Regions from separate parts of the Homo sapiens genome. Here region 1 is linked to region 2. Evidence: promoter capture Hi-C in human tissues and cell types (Jung and others, 2019). All regions are on one chromosome and are shown on one strand. Each heading gives the region's core, a stretch centred on a gene start or on the middle of the fragment in contact. The rest is flanking DNA. Distances are from core to core; before and after follow the strand shown. Region 1 overlaps KCNB2 (potassium voltage-gated channel subfamily B member 2). Region 2 holds the start of KCNB2 (potassium voltage-gated channel subfamily B member 2).

What was found. The method cuts DNA at HindIII sites, captures the fragments that hold promoters and counts their contacts. A contact is called where the count stands out against the background at its distance.
Region 1: a fragment that was not itself captured here is called in contact with the fragment with the promoter of KCNB2 in region 2 in 1 of the 25 tissues and cell types used here (dorsolateral prefrontal cortex).

Annotation. Positions count from the first base shown.
Region 1 is chr8:72,917,517-72,921,451 of GRCh38, reverse strand. All of the region lies in intron 2 of KCNB2 (potassium voltage-gated channel subfamily B member 2), which reads right to left. Among named protein-coding and RNA genes, the nearest start is that of KCNB2-AS1, 38 kb to the right of the region's middle. The HindIII fragment of the contact is 3,873 bases long and covers 668-3,935 here.
Region 2 is chr8:72,534,603-72,538,766 of GRCh38, reverse strand. KCNB2 (potassium voltage-gated channel subfamily B member 2) reads right to left here and starts at 1,542. Exons shown (of 3, transcript NM_004770.3): 1 at 882-1,542. RefSeq lists silencers at 1,483-1,532, 1,693-1,752, 1,763-1,812, 1,823-1,952. The HindIII fragment of the contact is 6,044 bases long and covers 161-4,164 here.

The DNA of each region.
Region 1 (3,935 bases), core at 1,355-3,854, 380 kb before region 2:
ATCTCTCTGCTATTCAGCTCCTAGTAAAAGCAGGTCCTGCTGAAATGTGGTGGCAGTTACCTATGTGTGGCTCATCAGAACAGCATTTTTTCACATTGTGGGTAGCAATCCATTGGTGGGTTATAAATCAATTTAATAGTCTTAATCAGCATTTTTTAAAAAAAGTAGAATAGAACAGATGAGAGTAGAATAGAAAACATAAGAAAGGGTAAACAGTGTTTTGTAAAATGTTTGTTGATGTTTGCATGTGTATACTAAGCCATATTCCTACCCCAAATGATGATAATAATAGTAATTATTATATTAAATTATAATAATTATTACACTTTGATGATTCATATGAAGGTAACATGATCCCAATGTTTCTCAAGCTGAACTTTGGATAATTTCACTCAATAAGAGAGAAGGTAGCCTACCTTCCGCGCTCTGCAAAAAGGGACAGAACTCTCGCTCTTTTGACATAACTTTAGCTTAGGACTTCTACAACTTATCTACCTGTTATACCCCTGTGTATACCTTATCTATAGTTTCTGTGTTACGGTCCTATTGGTCCTTTCTTAGCTCTAACATTTGTATTTTTGATCTTTTATTGACTGCTTTTTGTATTCTGTTGTTATTTGGGTTTTGAATAAAGTAGTTTACTTCATAATATTTCCTAGGATATAAGTTGGGGGTTGATACATTTTCATTAATCACTAGCAAAGCTACTTAGTACTTAAATCTTCATCATAAGAAAATGCCATATATTAAATTACACCTGGTCTTTAGTGCTACATTAGGACAGTATTTTTGTTATTATTTTATATTTTGAGACAGTGTCTGGCTCTGTTACCCAGGCTGGAGTGTGGTGGCATAATCGAGGGTCACTGTGACCTCCACCTTCTGGGCTCAAGCCATCCTCCCACCTCAGCCTCAGTATCCTGAGTAGCTGGGACTACAGGTGCACACCACCATGGCCAGCTAATATATATATATATAGATAGATAGATAGATAGATAGATAGATAGATATAGTGGAGAGGGGGTTTTGCCATGTTGCCCAGGCTGGTCAAGTGATTTGCCTGCCTTGACCTCCCAAAGTGCTGGGATTATAGGCACGAGCCACTGTGCCTGGCCAGGACATTATTTTAAACTTCTGATGAAATCCTTCAATATTTAAGCAAAGTTAACATTATTGATAGACTATTGATTGATATTGGTTTCTAAATATGTGGGTTTTTTTCATTATATGATTTGTCTCAAAATAAGAAAAAAGACCCAATTTTTGATTAAGTAAATGTTTATTGAGCTTACATGACTTGAGATCTAGTGATCTTACATGACTTAAGTTATATATAACTTAAGTAATTAATTTTAAAATAATTGACTCAATAGTTTTAAACTATAATATTAGCTTATAGGTCACATTTTGGATTCAAATCTCAATTCTATTGCTCATCTGGCTACGAGGCATCTACTCTTCAGGTAATAGAGGTGATAGCATTGAGATTAGAGCTTAAATATATCTAGTACCTCGTAAGTGCTTTTAAATAGTGGCTAACATTACTGCATATATTCAACAAATAGTCTTCATAGATGAAGACATATGTCTGCAATAATATCTGATTATCAAAGCAAAATTTAACCACCATTGATATTTAGTCTACAGATAAAAATACACCGAGCATATTATGACAAATGTCCAGATAATTTTCACATATAGCCTAAACATTTTCATGTTTAAATTTCTTACTTCCTATGTAGAAGTTTAAAATATTTCTGTAATTTCAAGCTAGGGATCCTCACTTGGTCGAATGCAATCAGTTTGTCAGTGATAGACCTACATATGGTCACTCCATCATAGCCTGTGGCCATGCCTTATTTCCTGTAGCCTGTCAAATATTCATCAGCTGCAAAGGGGAGGTGGCAGGTCATGTCTGAAGGCTACCACACAAATCTTCTCTTCTGATGATGGAAAAAACAGTGGTTGTTCAGAAGCCTATCTTCTGTGTGGTACACAACTATTTTGAATCAGTCCCAGTTTAAAAACTACCCATTACCCCCACCCTCCCAAAAGTCTTTCTTAATCTCCATAGTGAGAATCACTTCCTTCTGTGGTTTTCAGGAGCCTAGGGGCTCTTTAGATGTGCCTTGTGGGGGCCACTGCTGAGAGAAGGAGAAGACTTAGTGGGCAGGGCTATGGGAACTCCACTTCGGCCACGAACCAGGTGGAGCTGTTCCTCCGTATAGTGCTGAAGATGCTTAAATATGTAAAGAAGTGAAAAATTCTCATAGAAACACCTTAATGCTATGGTGTAACATACGCATGCATATAAATACATGCATTTACATATATAAACAGATGTATATCTCCTTTGGAGATGATAATACTGATAAATATTGCTAGCTGTGCTTGAAGATATGGTGAAAAAGACCTGTGGGTGCCCAAAAGCCCTTTCCATTCTATTTACTTACAGATAGATGGTATTTTATTTGTGGCCACAGCTGTTGTTTGCAGAGTTGGTCACTGAGCACAGTGTTGTCTTTTAGACTTCTAGGTTTTCTAAATGCCAGACTAGTTTTGTATATGCCGGGAATCTAAAATTTGACCTCCTAAAACAGGCAGAGGGCATGACTAAACACATTATATTACAATAGCACATAAAACTGCAACCCAATGAGCCCTGGCTGCCACTGGCCAGCTGCACCACATTAAATGGCCTCTAGGAGGCTGAAAGCTTTGTGCACCAGGAGAGACTGAATCATTGATTTTCTCCTACTATTGGAGTAATATTTTATGCTTTTGAATCATTTATATAAACATAATAAAATATACAAAATTCATTTTGCCACATTATTTATAAATTAGTTTAGAATTCCTCAAAAAGGGGAATTTTAGGAATTTTCCCAGATCTGAGTACTTATCTTAAATGCCTATTGAATATGTGTTATTTTCATCAAATTTTTATTTATGCAAATGCAATCCAACAAATACTATCTGTGGCCCTTAGGCTTTCTTTATCTTATTTTCTAAGACATTAAGCTTAGCAAAACAAATTCTAAGCTTTCTACATAAATAAAGGAGTTAACATAATAATAATAAAAAATATGCCCAGTGTCATTCCCACAACCCCATTCTCTCATTGCTTAAATAGTGTTTGCTTCTGAAAGTCTAAGTAGACAAGAGAACAAAGCACAGACAGATGATGACTTAGCACTGCTACAGAAGACACAACTTTTATGCTGCTTGATCTTTTTGCTTTAAAGTTCTCATCCTAATGATATGGTTGGGAGATTGTCAGGTACCACAGATTTGGCAGATAAATAAAGAACACCAAAATTCACAGTAGAAATAGGCTGAAAGGAACTAATTTTCTCTCTGTAAAATCATGACTAGGTAGGTTGAAAATAAGAATATAATTGCCTGTTTGCATATTGGCATTCCTGATCAGCCTGGGAAACACTGTGGGGCAAGTTTTATTTACCTTGGATACCCTTCAGCCTGCTTCCCCTTCTCTCTACACCTTTCACACCTCTTTGGGTCCTTTCTCTTCCCTGTCAAAATATCTGCCCAAGCAACCATTGCCTTCACCTCCTGTTCTACCAACCTGATATCACTATGAGAGTCAGATTATATCTTGACCCATCAGTAGAATTCCATCTTCATCAGTAGAATTTCAGGCAATGGAGATATTTTTGATTAGTGGGGGCTTTTAAATTATACCGCAAAAACATTCACCTATTATACCTAGTTGTAAAGCTGATATTACTGGAAAATATATTTTGGTATAAGGGACCACCATTCTTTTAAAAATTTACCACTTAAATTATATATAACCATCTTTTTCCTTTCCCAATTTCAACACCATTGACAGAATACAAATTGTTTGAACTGAAACCAAAATACTATGTCATGTCACATACAATTGCCAATTAAGAGTATTTTAAATGGAGTTG
Region 2 (4,164 bases), core at 293-2,792:
AATCAATGCAAAAATGAAAATGTGATACGATACTTAAAATCTTGACATTACTACACAACTTGATTAGAAGGAATGTTGAACCTGCGCGGAATTAACCCAGTGTATGTGCATACTAAATTTTTTTCAATGTAATCTTGTATGCATTATTACTTATTGTTGAAACACATGTGCAGTCATAAATGTTGCATAAATGGCATGTTTGTGCATATTGCACACTGACAGTTTTTATGAATGAATACGCATAAATGCTCACAACTCGAGAAAATGGATGGCGGCATACTATTTTGAAGAGGATCATTAAGCATCGGGAGCAAATGATGAGGCAAATGGTCGATGTCTTTTGGTGCTATTCAGGGCAAACGTATTCCCAAGTCCCCTAGCAGAGTGTGTTGGAAACAGCCATGAAGCTCTTTCCTTAGAGACCCGTTCTCCCTCTCAGGAATCGTGCTACAGAACGGAGACCGCGCACCGCTTGAAGAATAAAATGCACGCATGTCTCTGTGTTCTGAGGATCGTTCATACATCAGAGACATCACACTCCCTAAATCCAGTCCCACAAGTGTGTGCATGTGAGTGTGGCATTTACCAACAAATGGACGGAAGGCAACAAGAGCTCGGCTCCTAGAAATAACATCCCCATCCCTTCCCAGTCAGGCTGCTGGGAAGCTTTTCAGGGGCTAATACTTGAGCGCCTTCCCCACCGGGAAGGAGCCTGACATTAAAAACCCTCTCAGGGCTAAGTCAGCTTTGTGTGTAAGTCCACTGGGCGCCATATGGCAGTTTCCAATTCCTTTAGCAACTCAAGTCTGGCTAGGCTGCCGCGATGATTCATTCTTAAAGGAAGACCCCCTTCGGGGAGCAGCAATGCCCCCGCCACTTACCTAGCTCCCACAGACCCCGCTCAGCAGGCGGCACGGGCTCGGGCACCACAAAGGGCTGTGGGATTCCCCGCTCCCTCCGGGGAGCCTCTCCCCGCGACGATCCCCTTCGCCAATGACCTGTCGCTGGAAATCCCCCTCCCCTCCACAGAGAGGAGGGTCTCCCCGGCTGGCTGGAGCTCCCGGCGTGCTTTCCCCCTGTCTTTACATCCCTGACTCTGGTTCACGGTCTCTAGTAGGAAGGCTCAGAGGAAAGGCGGCGGGAGGAAGCTAAGGCATCCTTTAAAAGAACAATAATCTTCATCGATCTTCAACCCCTTCCCCACACGGGGTCCCCATCCCCCTGCCGCCGCCACAGCCACCCAGACAAGAGAGGGCTGGAACAGAAGAGGAAAAATCGAGCGGGGCTGAGCTCGCCGCGCGGAAGGAGCCAGAAAGCGAGCCGCGCCAGCCCGGGAGTTGCCGCTCGCTGGGGCTGCCCGAGGCGCAGCGGCGGCGGCGGCCGCGGGGGCGGAGGGCGGAGGGCGGAGGGCGGTGGGTGCTTGGTGGGTGTGTGTCTGTGGCGGAGCAGGGTAGAGGCTGCGCGCGGGAGGCTAGGCGGGGCGCTCTGGGGCGCCGCTCCCCCGCCCCGCAGCTAGCCGGCCCGGCGCGCACACAGGGCTGCGGCCACCCCAGCCTCCCGCTCCGCCTCCTCCCGCGCTCCGCGCACCCGCGGGCTGGAGCGGCCGCCGCCTTCTCTTCCTCCTCCCCCTCCCCCTCTTCCTCCTCAGCGCTCCCGGCTGTCAAGGTGGGCGGCGGGGCGGGATGGCTGGGCTGCGCGAGCCGGCAGCGCACCGCCGGGGACGCCGGGGCTCTGCCTCGCGGCGCCGGAGCTGTGCGCTCGGCCGGGGACAGCGCTCTGGTGCCCAGGGCGCGGCTGGGGCGCGGGCAGGCACCGCCCACACCTCGGCGGGGTGCCTCCCTCAGCTTCCGCGCGCCAGCCACTCCTGCTGCCCCGGGCCTGGCTCCACACCCACCTGCTTCGCTCTGCAGCTCCCACCCGGCTGCACTGGACTAGAGGGACGCAGCCCCCGCGGCTGCCGCGCACCCGGGGCCGGGAAAGCCCCGGGAGGCCCCGCCGCGACGCGCTCCGGCGGCTTCGCGGGATTCCCTCGGCCCTTCTGCTTCCAACTGCAGGGCTGTCCTCCCGCCCGCCCACAGCAGGACCCTGACCCTGGGCTGACTGCTCGACCCCGGGGAACTGGGGCGAAGACAGATGGCTCCTGAGTGGTGGTGCCAGGATTATTTTCCTGGAGAAAGAGCTGCGGAGATAACTAGGAGCGCAGATAAGATCTGACTTTCCTCGCGGCACCTGCAGCCCCGCTCGCTCGGGGGCCGTCCCTAGCCCCAAGTGACCCGGCTTTCCTGGGTTTGAGGGTAAAGCCGGGTCCGTGGCAACCTTAACCCTTGCTTCTCACGGGGGCGCTCTTCATACCCTTCTTTCTTTCCTTTGCCTATCAACTTACCAGCTGGAAAACTATGCCAAGTTACCCCTTGGCGAGGCCGCAGGGTGAACACTTAGACCTGTACCCACTTCCAGGGCTCGGTAAAGACAATGAACTTGAATAATAACACTGAGCCTTACATATTTCTGACCCCAGTGCTCCTTCACAGGCACGAAATAGAGACAGCTGGCACGGTTACAGGGGCTTTCAGGAAAACAAAGTAGCTTAAAACACCTTTTAGAAACGAACGCAGGCCGTGACAAGTCTATTTAAAGCTGGGACTCCTGAGTTTCTATAGACCAAGAAGGATGGCTGTTGAGGAAGTTCCAAGTACACTGTTTTATTTATATTTATTTATTTATTTATTTATTTATTTTTTCCTTGTATCTTCTGTTTATTGAGTGTTTTTTTAAATTTTATTATTATTATACTTTTAAGTTTTAGGGTACATGTGGGTTTGTTACATATGTATACATGTGCCATGTTGGTGTGCTGCACCCATTAACTCGTCATTTAGCATTAGGTATATCTCCTAATGCTATCCCTCCCCCCTCCCCCCACCCCACAACAGTCCCCGGTGTGTGATATTCCCCTTCCTGTGTCCATGTGTTCTCATTGTTCAATTCCCACCTAGGAGTGAGAACATGCGGTGTTTGGTTTTCTGTCCTTGCGATAGTTTGCTGAGAATGATGATTTCCAGTTTCATCCATATCCCTACAAAGGACATGAACTCATCATTTTTTATGGCTGCATAGTATTCCATGGTGTATATGTGCCACATTTTCTTAATCCAGTCTATCATTGTTGGAACCAAGTACACTGTTTTAAATATACTCCATGTCATCCTTGCCTTAGTTTTAGCCCTGATATGCCCTGGAATGCGCTATCCTCTCTAATTCTCTGCACCTTGACTTCCCACCTCGCTATGGGGAGGTGGCCTTACTTTGTACTGAGGGTTTTTGGTTTTGTGGTGGGTTTTTGTTTTGTTTTGGTTGTTGTTGTTGTTTTGAGGTGTCAGATGTTGGGCGGGATATTTAGCATGGAGGTTGGCCCTTCTGATGTTGTCACCCTCCAGCAAGAAACTGCCCTGCCCTTTGCTCTTCTTGGGGTTTCTCAATTATGAACACTAGGAAGAGGACACCCAGATTCCCAAACTCTTATCCCCAACTCTGGCCTGGTCCCAAGCTCCAGCTCTGCATTTCCAGGGACCTGCAGGCAGTCCATTCCCTCCCGCCCATCCTTTCCACCCTCCCACACAGTTTAAATACTTTCTGCCAATTGCTTTTCCTCACGCAAAACCCTGACCATATCATTTCCCTACTCACAAATATTCCCTGGTGTCCCATTTCCTACCAGACAGCATCTGCCTACCTCTGTGCCATTGCATGCGAGTATCTGGGATACCCTTCTCCAGGTCTTACGTCCAAAGCATTACAGTCCTGGAAGAGTCACTTCAAACTCTGCCTCTTCCATGACTTCTCCCTTTTGGTGTCCGTCGCACAATGTCCCAGCAATCTTTTTAAGACATATATCACCTTCCACTTCCTATACCATGTATTTACTGTGTACATTTCTTAACATTTTAAATTCTGGGTTCCTCCAGAAACAATTCCATGTCCCTTTATGGTTTGCATTCTTTACGTCTAACCCAAAGCCACACATGTGAGAGATACCTATTCATCTAACAAAGATTTATTTTGTAGTTTTTATCAGTCCCTCAATATTTGTTAATTGAATGAAATTTACAAAATAGTTTTAGGCTAGAATTCCTCAAATTAATTTTGAGTGTGCCTAAACTTAAC